Regions from separate parts of the Homo sapiens genome. Here all the other regions are linked to region 2. Evidence: promoter capture Hi-C in human tissues and cell types (Jung and others, 2019). All regions are on one chromosome and are shown on one strand. Each heading gives the region's core, a stretch centred on a gene start or on the middle of the fragment in contact. The rest is flanking DNA. Distances are from core to core; before and after follow the strand shown. Region 1 overlaps BAIAP2L2 (BAR/IMD domain containing adaptor protein 2 like 2). Region 2 holds the start of DNAL4 (dynein axonemal light chain 4). Region 3 overlaps MGAT3 (beta-1,4-mannosyl-glycoprotein 4-beta-N-acetylglucosaminyltransferase). Region 4 holds the start of PICK1 (protein interacting with PRKCA 1). Region 5 overlaps SYNGR1 (synaptogyrin 1). Region 6 holds the start of TAB1 (TGF-beta activated kinase 1 (MAP3K7) binding protein 1). Region 7 overlaps TAB1 (TGF-beta activated kinase 1 (MAP3K7) binding protein 1).

Region 1 (2,700 bases), core at 192-2,691, 700 kb after region 2:
TATCGCTTCCTAGCAGAGAAGCACCTGCTACTTTCCAACACCTTCCTGCAGTTCTTCGGCCGGGTGAGTTGGACTGGGGGGCAGCAAGCGGGGCGCTTCTAGGAGCTGCCCCCTCCTGAGTGGCCGTACATAGAGGTTTCCCTCCCTTCTTCCCTCTTCCCTCCCTGCCTGCCTGTCTGTAGAAATTCATTTTATTTTGCTATCTCCATCCATTTCTTCCTTTGTTTCTGGGTTTGCTTGTATCACTGTATATTCACTCATTTATTCACTCGTGATATTGTTTGTTTTTAATGCATTCACGAATTCATGCATTTATTTATTCATGTGTGGACCATTTTTTAATTCCTGTTTGTATATTCTCACAATTCACAAATTCATTGATAGGTGTGCTCAGTTATCGTCTATTAATTTTATCATATTATTTATTTATTTATTTTTTGAGACAGAGTTTCACTCTTGTTGCCCAGGCTGGAGTGCAACGGCACAATCTCGGCTCACTGCAACCTCTCCCTCCCGGGTTCAAGCGATTCTCCTGCCTCAGCCTCCCGAGTAGCTGGGACTACAGGCATGTGCTATCACGCCCGGCTAATTTTTGTATTTTTAGTAGAGACGGGGTTTCGCCATGTTGGCCAGGCTGATCTCAAACTCCTGACCTCAAGCGATCTGCCTGCTTCGGCCTCCCAAAGTGCTGCGATTACAGGCATGAGCTACCATACCCAGCCATTTTATCATATTATTTAAATCCTCTATGCTCTTGCATTGTTCTGTCTGCTAGACTAGTCAGACTCTCTCATCTCTCATTGGATTTCTAATAGATTTCACTTTCTGAATTGAGCTGCCATGTTGTTTGGCGTTTTTTGGCTATAACTATTCTACCTTCTTTGTAAATATTGCCATTTATGTACTTAATGTCTCTCTTAAGTTTGATGCTTTTAATTCCGCCTTGTCTGATATTAATACTGCTCTATTTTCTCTTCTCTTTGCTTATCTCTTTGTATGTTAAGTATACTTTCTGTTACTGACTTTTGAGTTTTTGACCAGTCTTACAGTCTGTGTCTTCTAATAGAAAAGGAATTCAGCCCATTCCCATTTAACATAATAATGAAGATACCTGGGTTTTATTCCTTTTAGATAACTTGAGCTAACTGTATTTACTTTGTCATTTCCTCTTTTTCTCCCACACTATTTCTTGTCAGTTTGGTTGAGTTATTATACTATACATTCCCCTTTTCCCTTTATTAATTTAGAAATTGCACTATTTTTTTCTCTCTACCTGTGGTGACCTCACTTTGTGACTTTCATAATCACATATATATCCACCTATTTTCCAAAAATGCCAACTTCACCCTACTACAGACACACACTGTTCAGTCCATCGCTCCGCCAATTCATAAGATGAGACCTTGATTTAAAGCTTTCCACAAAAATTAGGCTGGGCGCGGTGGCTCACACCAGTAACCCCAACACTTTGGGAGCGCGAGGTGGGTGGATCGCTTGAGGTCAGGAGTTCGAGACCAGCCTGGCCAACATGGCGAAACCCCGTTTCTACTAAAAATACAAAAATTAGCTGGGCGTGGTGGCAGGCACTTGTAATCCCAGCTACTCAGGAGGCTGAGGCAGGAGCATTGCTTGAACCTGGGAGGCAGAAGTTGTAGTGAGCCAAAATCAAGCCACTGCACTCCAGTCTGGGCGACAGAGTGAGACTAAGTCTCAAAAAAAAAGATGAGATAATACCTTAAGAAGTATTTTCCTGCCCTCCAACTATTCTGAGGTGGGGCCTTTGGAAAGCTTTTACTCCTGTCTTCATCCTTCCCATCCTCCACTTCCTGGTTTTGCCAAGATAGTTTAGGACTTAGTTTCAGACCTCACTAGTCATCTCTGCAGCATGACCCTTGTATTTTGATAAACTGATTTTATTTATGTGTGTATGTATTTATTTATTTTGAGACGGAGTCTTGCTCTGTTGCCCAGGCTGGAGTGCAGTGGCGCAATCTCAGCTCCCTGCAACCTCCACCTCCCAGGTTCAAGTGATTCTCCTGCCTCAGCCTCCCAAGTGCTGGGATTACAGGTGTGCGCCACCATGCCCAGCTAATTTTTGTATTTTTAGTAGAGACAGGGTTTCACCATGTTGGCCAGGGTGGTCTCGAACTCCTGACCTCAGGTGATCCACCTGCCTCGGCCTCCCAAAGTGCTGGCATTACAGGCATGAGCCACCACGCCCGGTCCTGGCTTGGGGTTCTTATCCCTCCCACGCCTCCCACGCCTCCCACGCCCTCCCCGAGTCTCTGGATCTGAACCCACGGGCCCAGGGATACATGACTGGATCCAAAGACCCAGATTTCGGCTCAGGCTCTCATCTGCCCACTGTCACCGCCTCACCCGGCCCCAGGCTCAGCCTTCTCGTCCCCTGCTATCCCACAAAAGGTCTGCCAGGGAGAAACAACTTCCTTTTTTGAAAAACAGTTTTATTGAGATATAATTCACATACGATTCACCCATTTACAGTGTACACTTTCTGGTTTGTAGTATATTCACAGAGTCATGCATCCATCACCACTATCAAGCTTAAAATATTTTCAATACCCTCCACCACAGTAACCCAGTACCTCGGCCAGGCGCGGTGGCTCACACCTGTAATCCCAGCACTGTGGGAGGCCGAGGCGGGTGGATCACCTGAGGACAGGAGTTCGAGGCCACCCT
Region 2 (2,700 bases), core at 42-2,541:
GAGGGGGTCGAAGTGAGGTTTTCTTGCTGTCTTCTGTTCCTGGGTGGGATCACAGAACTGTTTGAGCCACATTACTGGTCTGGGTGGTGTCAGCTGATCCATCGAGCGCAGGGTCTGCAAAATATCTCAAGCGCTGATCTTAGGTTTTACAATAGTGATGTTATCCCCAGGAGCAATTTGGGAAGGTTCAGACTCTTGCAGCCAGAGGCTGCTGTGTGACCCCTAAACCATAATTTCTAATGTTGTAGCTAATTTGTTAGTCCTACAAAGGCAGACTGGTCCCAAGGCAGGAAGGGAGCCTTTTTGGGAAAGGGCTATTGTCAATTTTGTTTCAGAGTAAAACTATAAACTAAATTCCTTCCCAAGGTTCGTTCAGCCTATGCCTAGGAATGAACAAAGACAGCTTAAAGGCTAGAAAGGCAAGATGGAGTGGGTTAGGTCTGATCTCTTTCACTGTCATAATTTCCTCAGTTATAATTTTGGCAAAGACAGCTTCAATGCTAGTAAATGTGGCAGTGGGGTTTCACCCCAAGTACTCATCACAATAATAAAGGTTTAAACTACGAAGTACCCAACTGACCCTTTGATCTACCAATCAAATAATAGAATCCGCCAGTTCTTCCCCTTTCCCCTTTTCCTTCTCCGTACTTTCGGATTAATTTTCCCTCCCAAGGGGAAGAAAAGGCAGGCTCTGGGCAACTGTGTCTGAAATTAGGTGGTACAAATGTCTCCTAGTGACTAGAGCTAGGTGACCATACAAGGGTGTGGCACAGAGGAAGGAGCCCCTGGGTTCCTTCTCCAGGGAGATTACCTCCATCCTTTACCAAGTTACTTAACCTCTCTGAACTTTAGTTCAGATGGGATGACGAATATTATCACCTAAAAGTACTGTAATGAGAATCAAGTGAGATATTAATTGTACAGCCCTACAAAAATGCTAGTTATTATCAGGCTTTTCAGATCCCAATAAAGTAGTGGCTAAGTGTCACGACACCAACAAGTTGCATTTGTTATTTCAAGTGACTAAAAGAACCTCCCAAGGCAGTACTGCTTTTCGAAGTTTGTTTCCCTAGAAAAAGAACTTCAATGTGTCCCCTGCTCCTCGGGCACGCTTAAGACAACTATAAGTGAAGTCCCGCCTCCCTGGCCTCTAAACCACGCCCCTGTCCTTGCAAACGCCTGACTTATAAGGGCCTTTCACTCTGATTGATACTTTTATCCACCAATAATAAGTGAAATTCTCGTCAACGTCCGGTGAGGGGGCAGGACTTCCTTGCTGGTTGCTAAGACACTCTTGTTTCGCTCCTTGACAACCCTGGCGGGGGTTCGCTGGCTGCGGCCCCGGCTCCGGCCCCCGCAGGAGCAGGTGAGGCCCCGGGGCGCGGCGGGCAGCCAGGCGGGGAGGGCCGGCCCGGAGGGAGGGCGGGAGGCAACGCAGGGCGGAAGAGGCCTCGCCCGCCGCCGAGGCCCCACCTCGGTCTCCTGCCTGCTGTTCCCCTGCCCCAGGTCTTCCCATCCTCAACCCCCACCCTCACCCCCACTTCGGGACCTGCGAGCTCTGTCGTGACAGGTTTGCCATCGCGACTCTGCCGGCTGCTCTTCCCCACCCACCCAAGGCCTGCCCAGCTTCGTGGTCCCGCGTCCCCCTTTAGCCGACTTCCCCCAGCACCTTGATCCCTCGACCTTTCGCGGAGTAATTCCCTCTCCCGCGGGGTCGCCATCAACTAGGTCAGACCGCTCTTGGCTTGGAGAGTTGGCGACTTACTGGGATTCTGGGCTGGTCATTTCCCCTGTTTGGGCCTCAGTTTCCCCATCTGTAAATGAGAAGTTGAGTTGAGTGATCTCTAAGGCCTCTTCCACTCTGACGTTCTAGGATGTCGTTGTTCTTTGACCCAACTTTAGGCTTCCGAGAGGATGTGCTCCCCAATGGGAGGTATCGTGTATTGTGAAAATAACTTGGCAAACCTAATTTGGATTCCCAGTCTCAAGACCTACCCTCCCTGCGCTTTTAATCAGTGCATATGTAAAATCAGTATACGTCGGTGCATCTCCTTTGGTAATTCTGAGGCTAATATGAAGTACAGAGTCCAGTCCAGTATAGATTCAGTATTTGTTAGTTTCTTTCCTTTGTCTCTTCACCACATTTTCCCTCTCTGGGAAATGTTATCAACCCGGTCAGCATGAACTGTCATTTCTCCAGTTGACCCTCTCTGATCTTCCTCCTGGGCTTCCATGGTTAGGGTTACTTAGGGGTGGGGAGGGGACAGATGGAGATTGAAATACAGTCATGTACCATATAACAACGTTTTGGTCAAGAAAGACCACAGATACCACGGTGGTGCCCTAAGGTTATAATGGAGCTGACAAATTTCTATCACCTAGTTACATAGCTATCGTAATGTCAAAGCAAAATGCATGACTCACGTGTGTGGTGATGCTGGTGTAAGCAAACCTACAGTGCTGCCAGTCATATAAAATATAGCACATACAATTGTGTACAGGACATCATACTTGATAATGGTAATAAATGACTGTTACTTGTTTATGTGTTTACTATCCTACACTTTTATTGTTATTTTACAGTGTACACTCCTCCTACTTATAAGAAAATAAAATTTAACCGTAAACAGTCTTAGATAGGTCCTTCAGGAGGTATTCAAGCAAAAGGCTTTGTTATCATAGGAGATGACAGCTCCATGC
Region 3 (2,700 bases), core at 132-2,631, 690 kb before region 2:
TCCCAGTTTATACCACCATGGTACATTTGTCACAACTAGGAAACGGACATCAGAATGTCACCATCAGCCAAACCCCATGCTGGATTTGGATCCCTCGTTTTATGAATGAGCCGTGCAGCCACAGAGCACCTCCGACCGTAGCCATCCAGCTCATTTCACCCTTGAGTCTAGGCAGGTGGGCAGGCGAGCCAGGAGTTTACATCCATTTGACCAGTGAAGATGCTGGGTGGGGCCAAGTGAGACCAGTGACCTGTCCGGGGGGAACCCACTGAGTCACAGAAAAGGCTGAGACAGAAACCTTGCCTTTGGCATCTGGCACTGTCCCACCTAGATATTCTTAAAATGTTCCCATCTGTGGCTTCTCTTTATTTTTGATTCTTTCTCTGGGTCATGCTCTCCCCCTCACTTTTTTTTTGAGACAGGGTCTCACTCTGTCACCCAGGCTGAAGTGCAGTGGCTAGATCCTGGCTCGCTGCAACTTCCATCTACCAGGTTCAAGCAATTCTCTTGCCTCAGCCTCCCAAGTAGCTGGAATTACAGGCGTGTGCCACCATGCCCTGATAACTTTTGTATTTTTAGTGCAGATGTGGTTTCACTACGTTGGCCAGGCTGGCCTTGAACTCCTGACCTCAAGTGATCTGCCCGCCTCAGCTTCTGAAAGTGCTGGGATTACAGGCATGAACCACCATGGCCAGCCTCCCTACTTTTTAAGGACAGCAAGGTAGGGTGGAAAGATAGGAATTTGGGTTAGGCGTGGTGGCTCACGCCTGTAATCCCAGCACTTTGGGAAGCTGAGGCAGGTGGATCACCAGAGGTCAGGAGTTTGAGACCAGCCTGGCCAACATTGTGAAACCCTGTCACTACTAAAAATACAAAAATTAGCTAGTCATGGTGGTGGGCACCTGTAATCCCAGCTACTAGGGAGGCTGAGGCAGGAGAATCGCTTGAACCAGGGACGTGGGGGTTGCAGTGAGCCGAGATCGCACCACTGTACTCCAACCTGGGCAACAGAGTGAGACTCCGTCTCAAAAAACAACAAACAAACAAACAAAAAAAAACAAGGCTCCTAATCATTCTGAACCTTAGTTTCTCCATCTGTGAAATGGGCACAGAGTTCCTGGCATGCAGCATGCTCAATAAGCTCTTGTTCCCTTCAATGCTCAAGGCTGGATGCCCGCAGTTTAATTTTCTACAAGCCACATGGTCGTAAGGCACAGAATCACAACACGATTGATCTAGAAATTTTAAGGACCATCTCCTCCAACTCTTTCATTTTATAGAGGAGGAAACCAGGACCTAGGGGCCTTCAGGGACCTGCCCAAAGTCACAACAGAGCTGGAGTGTGAACCGGGCAGCTGGGCTCCTGCACCAGGTGCCCCTCATGACCTCAGCTTGCGAGGAGTCCTGAGCAGGCTGGTAAGAAGCAGTGGAGCTGCTGATCCCGACAATCAGGGCAGCGTTTGCCCCATTCGAGCTCAGATATCCCTCCTCCAGTAAACGCCTGCCCCCCTGGAGCTGTCCACACGGAGTGGGCACAGCTGACTGCGGGCAGGTAGAACAATCTGGGGTAGGGGCCTGACCTCTGCTAAATGTCCCAGGGCAGAGCTGGGGCTGTTCGCCACTGGAGTTTGGAAGGAGGGGCTGCTCCTTGATAACATTTTGAAGTGGGTCTTCTGCACTTCATTCTCCATTTTGGATTCCAGCCCTTGTCTGGCAAAGTGAGACCAGTTGGGCTGGACCAGCTGGGTGAGCAAAAGGGGCTAGGAGTGCTGTGGCCAGGACCAGACACAAGGCAATACTGCAGCCGGGGTTAGCATGGCGGAAGCTTCCAGAGCAACCTACTCTTGGGGTTTCAGGACTTGGAAAGGCAGCCTGGATCCTTCTGGTGGGCTATTTTTCTTTTCTTTTTTTTTTTAATTTTTTAATTTTTTTGAGACGGAGTTTTGCTCTTGTTGCCCAGGCTGGAGTGCAATGGTGCGATCTCAGCTCACCACAACCTCTGCCTCAAGCAATTCTCCCGCCTTAGCCTCCTGAGTAGCTGGGACTACAGACATGCACCACTACACCGGCTAATTTTGTATCTTTAGTAGAGGTGGGGTTTCACCATGTTGGTCAGGCTCGTCTCGAACTCCTGACCTCAGGTGATCTGCCCGCCTTGGCCTCCCAGAGTGCTGGGATTACAGGTGTGGGCCACTGTGCCTAGCCTTAGTGGGCTATTTTTCTGTACTTGGGACCTGCCTCTGAGGGGGACACTCTAAGTTACACAACTGGTGTAAGCTATGTGGCAGGCATGGCCTGGGGCTGCCATTCAGACTCTAAATCCCCTGGCAGCATGAACAAAGGCTTTAGCAAAGCAAGGTAAGAGGAACTCAGAGAGGCAAGGAAACAGCCTGCTTGGCGTAAAGGGCCTCCGTGGACCTGCTGAGGTCAGATTGACCCAGCTGCCCCTTGGCTGGCTTTCAGGATCTAGTTACTCATAGCCAGCTGTGCCCTTCTGAGCACGGACTCACCAGTGCTTGGGAGCTCCCCTCTCAGTCACTGGAGCCTTCAGGACAGGGCCCCTTAATAAGGCCTCAGTCTGGGTTGCTGCTGAGAATCAAGGATCTGGGCATGTTTCCCTCATCACTCAGGCTGCTAGGAGGCTCAGAAGCACACAGTGGTCAGCCAGAGCATGTCAACAGCACCTCACAGACAGCATTT
Region 4 (2,700 bases), core at 13-2,512, 740 kb after region 2:
TGTGGATGAGCACCCTTATCAGAGTTCTTCTAACCATGCATGGAGGGCACTAACAGCAACCCAGTCCATAGCAGGCACTCCATAAAAATAGGTCCCCCTTCCCTTTCATTTATTCGATCTCTGAGATTTGAGCCAGGTTCTGTCCTTGTCACCTTATCAGGCATCTATGTAGTATGATGGCCACCTACTCCAGGGAGTCTTCCTCTATTAAACTGTCCACCTCCCACCTCTCAACTGCTCGATTACCTCTCGGTTTCCACTATAAATTAGCATTGACTGGTGTTTTATGATAAGTACTCACGCTGATTCACTTATTCATTCAAAAAACATTCGCTAACAACCTACTGACGTCAAGTCCCTTACTAAGTGCTGAGCATAGAGAAAGGCATTGCACCCACTCCTTGATCTGAAAGAGGATATATTCTAATGGGAAAATCTGTCCTACTAACAACCTATGTTGGGAAGGAAGGGTGTCTACAATATTCCTATTCAACCTTCAAAACCTGGTTCAATTGCTACGTCCTCCATGAAGCTTTCCTTGACCATCCCAGCAGAAGCACTGCTCCATCTGCTTTGCTCTTCTTGTCACCAAGTCATGCTAATAGTGCCCTTATGGCACTGAGCTGTGATTATCCCTTTAACTGTCCACAGCCCCCTACAAATAGTGAGCTCCTGGGAGAGCAGGGTCCATTGCTGCTTCAGTACAACAACTGATCCACCGCTGAGAAGCAAGGGTCTGTGGGACTGGGAAGTCCAGGGAAATGAGGAACTTGGGGCTCCTATACTGCTGGAACTTGGGGGAATAAAATACTCACAGTTTATCCTCTTCGATGTCATAATCCAAGTCTGCAAACATGGTTCCGAGAGTTGGAGTGGGCTGGCTAACTGCCCAGCTCGGTAGGGGAATGGGGAACTGGATCCGGGAGAGAAAGGAGCATAGGATTTAAGGAACCCAAGTGCCTAAATGCCAACGCCACCCCTCCCTCCACCACCTCATACGGGACAGCAGTGCCCTCCTCTTCCCTCTGGAGTGGGATGGGACAGTCTCCGGGTGGGGGGCTGGGTAGGTGATTCTTACTAGGTACAAAGGGGGGCTCCAGGCCAGGGCGATAGGCTCAGATCCCAGAGTCCGCCCCACGGGTCTCCAGGCCCTGGGGAGCTGCCTCTGTCGCTCACCGGAAGCGTTGGTCCCACAGCCGGGTCCCGGCCAGGCTGGTACCTGAACCCACCTGCCGTTCCACCTGGCGGTGGCCGCGATTGTCACGTCACTTCCGGCAAGACGCGGAAGTCCCGGCTTTCCCCCCACTGGATATTTGCTCCAATCCCTGCAGACAATCCTTCCCTTCCCGGCTCCCGGGACGCTCGGAACCAAGAACGAGAACAAGTATTGGCGGAAGCTCGCTGTTAGTAGGAACAAGCGAAAACAGAGGAACGGTCTGGACAGGCTGACAGCGTCTAACCCCGCCCTTTGCCCTGCCGCCGCCGCCATCTTGGGAAGGGCAGGGTTTGTCCCAGCTTCCTCAGCTGCACTCAGGGGCCCGCGCCGGCCCGGCGGTTGCCATGGCAACGAAAGCATCCCTGAGCCGGGGTTACCTCCGGCGAGGCTCAGTGGACTATAAACCCCAAGACATCATGCCCTTTCACCCCTTCACCACCTGGGCCTGTGACTCCCCTACTAGAATGGCCCTTTGAGGTCCCAGCCCATCCCAGTTTCGCCAACTTAAGTGCCAAAGAGCGGGGAGTGATTTTGTGCGGGGCCACACACAGTTGGTGTAAGATCTGGATCGTGGCCCTGAAACTCCCGCCGCCTAGTCTAGGGATCTTTGAACGTCCAAACACTAAACAGAGAGCCAGGAGAGGTGTATTCAGTGGGTCTTGCTATTAAGGACAGACTGGACATGCTCCCTTCCCTTTATGTGCCTCAGTTTCCCCATATGTAAACCAAGGCCATTGAGGTAAATGCTTTCTATGGTATATGGTGAAAGGTTTCTCACACCCCCTCCTCCTTCCTTAGTCCTGAGGAGCAGCCCCCCTGGGGTCCCAGGGAGGGTCACGGTCCGCATGTACCTGAGGCTCGGGAAATGCTATCAGTGCTCCCCAGAGTCCGAATCTTGTCTCCTCGCCAGCCTCTGCTGCCACTGCTATTGTGTAAAGTGGGTTCCCTGGGGGAGGTTGGCTCTCCCAGAGCCACAGCCAGGCATCCACCTCATCCGGCAGCATGGGGCCAGGCCCATCCAGCTTGCTTCCCCAGCTGCCCCAGGAGCCATGGAAGAAAGATACAGAAGGATGATTATCCACATATCCCACGGCCGGTGGAAGCCCCGCCCTACTCTCTCCTTAGGTGGCTAATTGAGTCCGGACAGATGTGCAGAATGCCGTGACAATAACAGCCTTCCCACGTGTCCACTGCTCTCCTGTGAGATCACTTTCACAGGATTTGAAAGCTCACCACCACCCTGTGAGAGAAGACCAAATCTTGCCAGCCACATTGTGCAGGCAAGGAAACGGAGGCCCTGGGAAGCCTCTTCCTCTGGTATCATAGCGGCAGGGCTGGGGCTGGGAAAACCAAGCTCTGTTTCCAGGCCAGAATTTTGGTTTCAAAAAGCAGCAGTCTAAGGCCAGGTGCGGTGGCGCACACCTGTAATTCCAGCTATTTGGGAGCCTGAGGCAGGAGAATCGCTTGAAAATAGGAGAGGGAGG
Region 5 (2,700 bases), core at 113-2,612, 590 kb before region 2:
ACCTGATGCCTGGAACACAGATGTGATGGCTGGAGCTCTAATTGCCAAAAGGGACCACAAAGACCATGAGCCAAGTCTGTAGGAATGAAAGATGCCTGGGGGCCATGCACCGCGGCTCATGCCTGTAATCCCACAACTTTGATAGGCCAAGGTGGAAGGATTGCTTGAGGCCAGGAGATCAAGACCAGCCTGGGCTAAAATATGCACCTCTGGCATATTGACTATGTTGAGTTAAAGGCACTTGAAAAACAGCAGGCACAATAACAATCTGATCTTCTTCTTGAAAGCAGGAGAGGCCAGGCGCGACAACTCATGCTTGCAATCCCAGCACTTTGAGAGGCCAAGATGGGCAGATTACTTGAGGTCAGGAGTTTGAGACCAGCCTGGCCAACATGGTGAAACCCCATCTCTACTGAAAATTAAAAAAATTAGCTGGGCATGGTGGCATCACCTGTAATCCCAGCTACTCGGGAGGTGCAAGCAGGAGAATCGCTTGAACCCAGGAGGCGGAGGTTGCAGTACCCTGAGACAGCGCCACTGCACTCTAGCCTGGGCAACAAAGTGAGACTGTCTCAAAAAAAAAAAAAAAAAAAAAAAAGGCCAGCTTGGGCAACATAGCAAGACCCCATCTCTACCAAAAAAATCCACAAAAACCAAATTAGCCGGGCATAGTGGTACTGGCCTGTAGTCCCAGCTACTCAGGAGGCTGAGGTGGGAGGATTGCCTGAGCCTATGGGTTTGAGGCTGCAGTGAGCTATGATCCAGCCTGGGCAACAGAGTGAGACCCTGTCTCTAAAAAAAAGGAAAGATGCCTGGGTCACCGAAGACCTCTGGAGCCAGTATGCCAGCCCTGGACCACTTCCACAGCCTTGGACTTTGTTGAAATCACTGTTATCTGGGATTTCGGTCACCTGCTGCTGAACCTAATTCTAAGTGAGAAACTGAGTTAAATAGAGTGAAACAAGTTTCAGGATCATCTGACTTGGCAGAGCCCTGACTATTCAATGTGACCGCGCCTAGCCTGAAGCCGCCCCGTTTTTTTTTTTTTTTTCACAGATCTCAGATTGGGAAAGACTTGTCTACAGCACACATGCATGGTTAGGAAATTATTTTTCAATAAAAGCAATTACATTGTTATTAAGGACAATGACACTGACCACACTGAGCTAAGTCAAAGTTTAAGTAAATCAAACTTGTCATTAGAAAAGCAGCTTAGAGGTTTATTGCAAAAGCCTTCTCCAGAAACTTTCCCGGCCCGGGGAATCTGCCTGTGATGGGAATGTGCTGATACTCTCCAGACCCCTGTTTTAGGGCTGGGAAGATTGAGGCCTAGAAAAGGAAGTGCCCGTGGCAGAGTTACTGCTAGAACCCTTCCCTAAACATGGGGTCCTACCCCTTCCCAGGTCAGGGCGCCCTCACCTCCTTCCCTTTCACTGGCCCCTGACGAGGCACTAAGTCAACCAACAACCTAAAGAGCCACTTAGTGAAGAGGTAGAGAGTGAATATACCTAGCGTTTTATTCCACAAAGTTCCAGAAACCCAGTGACTGGGCATTTCCTTTTTTTTTTTCTTTTTTTTTTTGAGACAGAGTCTCGCTCTGTCACCCAGGATGGGGTGCAATGACACAACCTTGGCTCACTGCAACATCTGCCTCCTGGGTTCAAGTGATTCTCCTGCCTCAGCCTCCCAAGTAGCTGGGATTACAGGTACCCGCCACCACACCAAGCTAATTTTTGTATTTTTAGTAGAGACGGGGTTTTGCCATGTTGGCCAGGCTGGTCTCAAACTCCTGACCTCAGGTGATCCGCCTGCCTTGGCCTCCCAAAGTGCTGGGATCACAGGCATGAGCCACCATGCCCAGCTAGGGCATTACCTTTTGATTGTACTCATTGACCAAAGTTCTGAGGGGAAGCACTTTCTGGGAGGTGGGTATTTAAAGCAAAGTGCCAGCACCTTGGGAAAGGCAGACTAGGTCTAAAGAAATTGGGCTAAGGGATAAGGTGTAGCCCTCTGGGGTTTCCCACTATGTTAGCATGAGGTCCTGGCTGCTGGGGGCTCAGACGCCGGAGCCTGAAGAAGCAGGGGAGGTGAAGAGCCCCCTGAGGGTACACTTGAGCCCTGGCCAGCCCACAGGAACTGACTGAATGAACCTTGAGAGCAATGTCTGTAGACGCGGTTCTCCCCGAGCTCCCTGGCTCTACTATCCAGGCTGGTTTCCTGTACAGAGGCAGAGGGCTGGAGCAGATGACCCCTACTGATCCTTCTAGGGAGATGCCTCTGGCTGTAGGCACTCATACTGTCTCTGTGTTCAGCTCTCTGCCCTCACTAAGTCAAAGCTTCATTTGGGCAACCAGTTTAAGGGGCCACAAGACAGGAGCAAAGGAGAGGCCTGGGCCCCCGCTGGCCTGGGCTGCAGAGGGAGGATGGGAGTTCTACTGAGAGCCCAGGGACCTGGTGGTCCCCTGGCCCCACTTTCTCAGTGTAGGTGCTCTCTCTGCAGCATCTCCAGCGTGCAGCAGGCAGTCTGCATCTGCACTGGGATGCCTCCAGTGCCAGGAAGCTCACTCTCGATGTGCTCAGGCCCTCGCAGGGTTGAGGCATTGCTTTGGGGGAACTGTCTGTGCTCCACCAGCCTCCTCAACTCCAGCAGAGAGTGGAGGAATGGGTGAGTTCCTGCCCAGGCAGCTGGGGGCCTCAAGC
Region 6 (2,700 bases), core at 63-2,562, 610 kb before region 2:
ATCACAGGTCCCTGTCCTCAAGGAGTTTACTTTCGTTTTTTTTTTTTTTTTTTTTTTGAGACACAGTCTCGCTCTGTCGCTCCAGGCTGGAGTGCAGTGGCCCGATCTTGGCTCGCTGCAAGCTCCGCCTCCTGTGTTCAAGCTAATTCTCCTGCCTCAGCCTCCCGAATAGTTGGGACTACAGGCGCCCCCACCACGCTCGGCTAATTTTTGTATTTTTAGTAAAGACGGGGTTTCACCATGTTGGCCAGGATGGTCTTGATCTCCTGACCTCGTGATCCACCCGCCTCAGCCTCCCATAGTTCTGGGATTACAGGCATGAGCCACCGCGCCCGGCGGAGTTTACTTTCTAGTACAGGAGGCAGACAAGTCCATAGACAATTCTAACAGTGCCATGCATAGGAAGGACCCAGGAGGCCAGCACCCTACCCTGGTAGGTCAGAGTAGTCCATGGTGCCAACATGTGTGTGCATCTATGTGCACATACGCGTCAGAGGACGCAGGGCCTGGAAGACAGCGCCAAACCCATGAGGGTCCAGACCGGGGGTAGGGATGAGTCTGAAGACAATTCTTCCACTCAGCGCTCTCGCCTTAGGAGAAGGAAACTGAGGCTGAGGGAGACACAGTCAGAGCCAGGACCAGAACCCAGTGACAGCTACCACTGGTCATTCCTTTAGTACAGCCCAGGGGTTAAGGGGGTTTCTGGAATCACACTGCCTGATTTTAATCCTGCCTCAATACGTACCATTTGTGTGGCCTTAGGCAAACGACCACCTCAGTGTCTCAGTCTGTCAAATAGGAATAACAGTAGCACCTATCTCAGGGGGCTGCTACGAAAATGAAACTGACAAATGTAAAGCAATTAACACAACGCCGGGGATGCAGTAAGCGGTACACTGTGGATGCTGCTGTTATTATCATTGCACGTCTGCTCGGTGTCGCAGTGGGCTCGAGACTCGGATAGCTCTGCTGCCGCCCGCCGTGTTCCCTTCTGGCTCCAGGACGCTCCCGCCCTCGACGCCCGGCAGCAGCAGCCCACAGCCCCGGCGCCCTTGACCCGGGGGCCGGGCCCGCCGCGCACACACGCCCTGGCCTCGGGAACGAGGGGGCCAGCCCGAGGAGAGGAGAAGGTGGCTGACACACCCCACCACGGAGAGGGTGGCTGTCCAAACTCGGAGAAGGAGCCGTTCCTGCACCCGACAGCACCCCCGCCCAGGCTCCCAACCCCAAGCCCAGAGAGCGGGCCTGTTCCTCACACTCTGCAGCAAGCTCCTCCTCTGCGCCGCCATCTTGGAGGAACCCCTGCGGGAGCGCCCGCCTCCCCGCAGAGCAGCGAGTGGGGCGGCTAGAGCGGCCCGAAGGAGGCGAGGATGACCGCGCTGCCGGGGAGCATGCGCCCAGCGCCACCCCACGCCCGAAGAGGGATGGGGGTCGTAGCGGACCGTGTGCGCAGGCGCGCTCTTGCACGTTTTGTTGTTGTTGTTGTTGTTGTTGTTTTGTTTTGTCTTTTCCTCGGGGCCGATTGCTCCTCGCCCATCTTTATTATTTTTTGAGATAGGGTCTCACTCTGTCACCCAGGCTGGAGTGCAGTGGCGCGATCACAGCTCCCTGCAACCTCTGCCTTCCGGCCTCAAGCGATTCTCCTTCCTCAGCTTCCCGAGTAGCTGGGATTACAGGTGCCCGCCTCTCCTGCCCCAGCCTCCGGAGTAGCCGGGACTACAGGCATGAGCCACCACGCCCGGCTAATTTTTGTATTTTTAGTAGAAACGGGGTTTCGCCATGTTGGCCAGGCTGGTCTTGAACTCCTGAGGGTTCTTTGTGAACACAGTTGGTAAGGGGAGGACAATTCATTCACTCAGCAAATGCTACCTAGGTGACCCTGCTTGGCTCTATAGTGGGTTCTGCAGCGAGCAGGACAGGCCTTCAAAAAGCTAACATTTTATTTTATTTTATTTCATTTCATTTTATTATTATTTTATGTTATGTTATGTTATGTTATTTTTGAGACGGAGGCTTGCTCTGTCGCCCAGGCTGGAATGCAGTGGCGTGATCTGGACTCACTGCAACCTCTGCCTCCCGGGTTGAAGCGATTCTCCTGCCTCAGCCTCCCGAGTAGCTGGGGTTACAGGCGCCCGCCACCACGCCCAGCTAATCTTTTACATTTTTTGTAGAGACGGAGTACCGCTATGTTGGCCAGGCTGGTCTCAAACTCCTGGCCTAAAACGATTCTTCTGCCTGGGCCTCCCAAAGTGCTGGGATTACAAGTGTGAGCCACCCCGCCCAACCTAAAATGTTAACATTTTAATTGGAGAGGACAACATTTATGTATATAAGACATTCTGCCGGGGGCAGGCGCGGTGGCTCATGCCTGTAATCCCAGCACTTTGGGAGGCCGAGGCCGGTGGATCACCTGAGGTCAGGAGTTCGAGATCAGTCCAGCCAACATGGTGAAACCCCATCTCTACTAAAACTACAAAAAATTAGCCAGGCATGGTGGTGCACGCCTGTAATCCCAGCTACTTGGGAGGCTGAAGCAGGAGAATCACGAACCTGGGAGGTGGAGGTTGCAGTGAGTGAGCTGAGATCACTCCACTGCACTCCAACCTGGGCAACAGAGTGAGACTCTGTCTTAAAAAAAAAAAAAAAAAAAGCACACTTGTCACGGGAGCCCACTGTGGCTTGCACAGAGTTGGAGGAGAG
Region 7 (2,700 bases), core at 59-2,558, 630 kb before region 2:
GCCCGCAGGTGGATGCTGATTCTGCTGAGGGGAGGAATCTATGCCCAGAATGTAAAATAAAACACACAACCTGACAAGAGGAAAAGAAAAGAGAGAAAGAGAAGGTCAGAAAAATAGACCCATCGTCTTACAGCAGCTGCTAAAATAAAGCTTGGAAGGCCATAAAAACTGGCAGGCAGCTGAGGTCAGGATGGCAAAGGTTGAATGCCCGATTCTGGCCTGTTCCATACGTCCTGTTCACAGGGTCCGGTGGTGGCAGGGCAGGGTGTGGGACAGCAAGAGGGAGGGATTATCCCTGGGAGCCCAAGCCTCTTGCTATTATTTGGGCTTTTCCAAAACAGATGGCTGAGACCCCAGATACTCTCCATGTGTACAGGGATCCTTTAGTGACTGGGGTCAGAGTCATTACATGCCAACACATGTGTGTGCACATGGAGGTAAGTACATGAGGAGGTGCTGGCAACACCATCCAGAAGAGCGGAGTCTAAGAACTTCCTGAGGGTCCGTCAGCCAGGGCTGGGCCCTGGGAGCGGTTATTACACAGAATGACGCCATCCTAACTGCAGGTGAGCAGAATGAAGAGATGAGCACCTTTAATGATAGCAGTGAGGGGTGTGTAAACATATCTCCAAACTCATCAAGTTGTATGCATGAAATAGGCACAGCTTTGCATATGCCAATTACACCTTAGGGTTTAAAAAAAAAGAAAAGAAGGAGGAGCAGGACACACCAGCACCTGGGAGGGGCAGGACACACCAGCACCTGGGAGGGGCAGGACACACCAGCACCTGGGAGGGGCAGGACACACCAGCACCTGGGTGTTCCGAAAAGGATGCAGGCTCCTTGGCCCCCAGGACAAACACACACACACACACACACACACACACACACACACACACACACAGAGAGAGACACCCCAGCACCTGGGTGTTCCGAAAAGGATGCAGGCTCCTTGGCCCCCAGGACAAACACACACACACACACACACACACACACACACACACACACACAGAGACACCGTGTGTGTATATGTGCATGTGGCCAGATTTTGGAACAGGATACACAAGAAACTAGCAGCCTCTGGGGAGGCAGCGAGTCCTAGAGTGTGGTGTAGGAAGACTTCCTTTCCCTGTATAGACCCCAGCACTGTCTGAAGTGTTTTAAACTATGGATGTCCTTTCCAATAAAGGAAACAGGACCCCACAAATTAGGGACAAATATTCGACACTCAGTTGCCTAGATCGCGTGAGGGCAAGGAGTTCTAACATGCACTTTCTAGGCCATGAGGCCTCTGTTGATGGGAACTCTGGCTTTGGGAACAGCCTTGGCCATGACATTAAATGCCATGATTGGCATCAGGCAAGTGGACGCGCCTATCTCCCCAACCAACACTTCACATACAGGTTACCTGACGGTTAAGGACACATATTCCAAATTCAGGCTGCCTGTGTTCAAGCCCCATGACCAGGGTGGGCTGCCTGATGTCTCCATGCCTCAGTTTCCTCTTATGAAAATGCCTCTGGGGTGATGGCAGTGACTGCCTCAGGGGGCCTGAGTAGGGAATGCATAAAAGAAGGTACATCCAGAGCTCTGCACGGGCTTGGCCGTGTGATGATGACTGCCCATTCTGCTGCCATGAGCGCTGGGGTGATGTCCAGAGGAGGTGTCCTCAGAGGGAAATACACAATTCATCTCACACCTCTGCTGCAGCCATGGGCAGCACCGACCAACAGGCCTGGTCTGTCCATCCCATGCCAACTCTGGCTTCGCCTGCCTCCCTTGTGGCACTAGTTGCTGCCCTCAGCTTTGGCCCAGCTCAACTCCACCCCTTGTTTCTACAGTACCCAACTCCTGGCCTGCTGGGCCTAACCTGCCCCAAACCAACCTCTCTGGGAGGAAGAAAGAGTTTGCCTGGGCTCTGAACTACTTTGACTGCACATGTGTCACTGGGGCCTACAGTCTGCGTCTGCCCCAGGCCTTCTGGACCTTTTTTTTTTTTTGAGACAGGGTCTTGCTCTGTTGCCCAGGCTGGAGTGCAGTGGCATGATCACGGCTCACTGCAGCCTCGACCTCCCAGCACAATCAATCCTCCCATCTTGGCCTCCCTAGGACCTTCTGTTCTTTCAAGCACAGGGGACAGCTGGGCTGGCACCTACCTGAGAAGGTCAATGTCCGTGTAGCCATATTTAACCTTGTAATCCCCGATCCGCCGGGTGCTCTCCTGCCCACAGATGATCCCCACCTGCTTGATCTTTCCAGCATCCAAGCCTACGGAGGGAAACAGTGCAACAATCCTGCTTCTTGTTCACAAAGAGGAACAAAAAGAAGGGGACAGAGACACAGTCATGGGAAGAAGGCAATAAGGACCCACTGAATAGGAAATGAAGACAACACCAGGGCACCTGGGAGAGCAGCTGACCCAAAGTCCCTGGTGTCCTCAGTCCCCACGCCCATCACGACACACCTCACTCAGAGCCCGTCCTCCAGGCACCACCTGGCACGGAGCAGCTTGCCTGCCGTCTCCCTGCCCATCCCGTGTGCCCCACATCTGCCTGGAGCTCACTGGGAAGGGAAGGAGCAGCTCAGCAGCAGCTGGGCTCCCTGGACTTCTTTGGCCTCTTTCAGTCTCCACCAATAACAGTAAGTGTCTTCTGTGTGCCAGGCACTCCAGGAAGCATTTCACATGCACTAACTGAATCC

What was found. The method cuts DNA at HindIII sites, captures the fragments that hold promoters and counts their contacts. A contact is called where the count stands out against the background at its distance.
Region 1: a contact is called between a fragment that was not itself captured here and the fragment with the promoter of DNAL4 in region 2, in 2 of the 25 tissues and cell types used here (lymphoblastoid cells and mesenchymal stem cells).
Region 3: a fragment that was not itself captured here is called in contact with the fragment with the promoter of DNAL4 in region 2 in 3 of the 25 tissues and cell types used here (H1 embryonic stem cells, dorsolateral prefrontal cortex and lymphoblastoid cells).
Region 4: a contact is called between the fragment with the promoter of PICK1 here and the fragment with the promoter of DNAL4 in region 2, in 3 of the 25 tissues and cell types used here (bladder, lymphoblastoid cells and mesenchymal stem cells).
Region 5: a contact is called between a fragment that was not itself captured here and the fragment with the promoter of DNAL4 in region 2, in 5 of the 25 tissues and cell types used here (adrenal gland, bladder, heart left ventricle and 2 more).
Region 6: a contact is called between the fragment with the promoter of TAB1 here and the fragment with the promoter of DNAL4 in region 2, in 4 of the 25 tissues and cell types used here (adrenal gland, dorsolateral prefrontal cortex, lymphoblastoid cells and 1 more).
Region 7: a contact is called between a fragment that was not itself captured here and the fragment with the promoter of DNAL4 in region 2, in 1 of the 25 tissues and cell types used here (lymphoblastoid cells).

The regions. Positions count from the first base shown.
Region 1 is chr22:38,094,395-38,097,094 of GRCh38, reverse strand. It overlaps BAIAP2L2 (BAR/IMD domain containing adaptor protein 2 like 2), which reads left to right. Exons shown (of 14, transcript NM_025045.6): 7 at 1-63. Among named protein-coding and RNA genes, the nearest start is that of SLC16A8, 12 kb to the right of the region's middle. The HindIII fragment of the contact is 3,515 bases long and covers 1-2,700 here.
Region 2 is chr22:38,792,734-38,795,433 of GRCh38, reverse strand. DNAL4 (dynein axonemal light chain 4) reads left to right here and starts at 1,291. Exons shown (of 4, transcript NM_005740.3): 1 at 1,291-1,366. RefSeq lists a silencer at 1,100-1,549. The HindIII fragment of the contact is 13,707 bases long and covers 1-2,700 here.
Region 3 is chr22:39,482,718-39,485,417 of GRCh38, reverse strand. All of the region lies in intron 1 of MGAT3 (beta-1,4-mannosyl-glycoprotein 4-beta-N-acetylglucosaminyltransferase), which reads right to left. Among named protein-coding and RNA genes, the nearest start is that of MGAT3-AS1, 7.2 kb to the right of the region's middle. The HindIII fragment of the contact is 5,623 bases long and covers 1-2,700 here.
Region 4 is chr22:38,055,966-38,058,665 of GRCh38, reverse strand. It overlaps PICK1 (protein interacting with PRKCA 1), which reads right to left and starts at 1,262. Exons shown (of 13, transcript NM_012407.4): 1 at 1,079-1,262; 2 at 816-913. The coding sequence starts at 856. RefSeq lists enhancers at 561-1,184, 1,429-1,488, 1,185-1,810. The HindIII fragment of the contact is 14,484 bases long and covers 1-2,700 here.
Region 5 is chr22:39,378,515-39,381,214 of GRCh38, reverse strand. All of the region lies in intron 3 of SYNGR1 (synaptogyrin 1), which reads right to left. Among named protein-coding and RNA genes, the nearest start is that of TAB1, 20 kb to the left of the region's middle. The HindIII fragment of the contact is 3,186 bases long and covers 1-2,700 here.
Region 6 is chr22:39,398,392-39,401,091 of GRCh38, reverse strand. It overlaps TAB1 (TGF-beta activated kinase 1 (MAP3K7) binding protein 1), which reads right to left and starts at 1,312. Exons shown (of 11, transcript NM_006116.3): 1 at 1,257-1,312. The coding sequence starts at 1,289. RefSeq lists a silencer at 954-1,093 and an enhancer at 1,254-1,373. The HindIII fragment of the contact is 8,049 bases long and covers 1-2,700 here.
Region 7 is chr22:39,419,087-39,421,786 of GRCh38, reverse strand. TAB1 (TGF-beta activated kinase 1 (MAP3K7) binding protein 1) reads right to left here. Exons shown (of 11, transcript NM_006116.3): 7 at 2,157-2,268. Among named protein-coding and RNA genes, the nearest start is that of TAB1, 21 kb to the right of the region's middle. The HindIII fragment of the contact is 5,458 bases long and covers 1-2,700 here.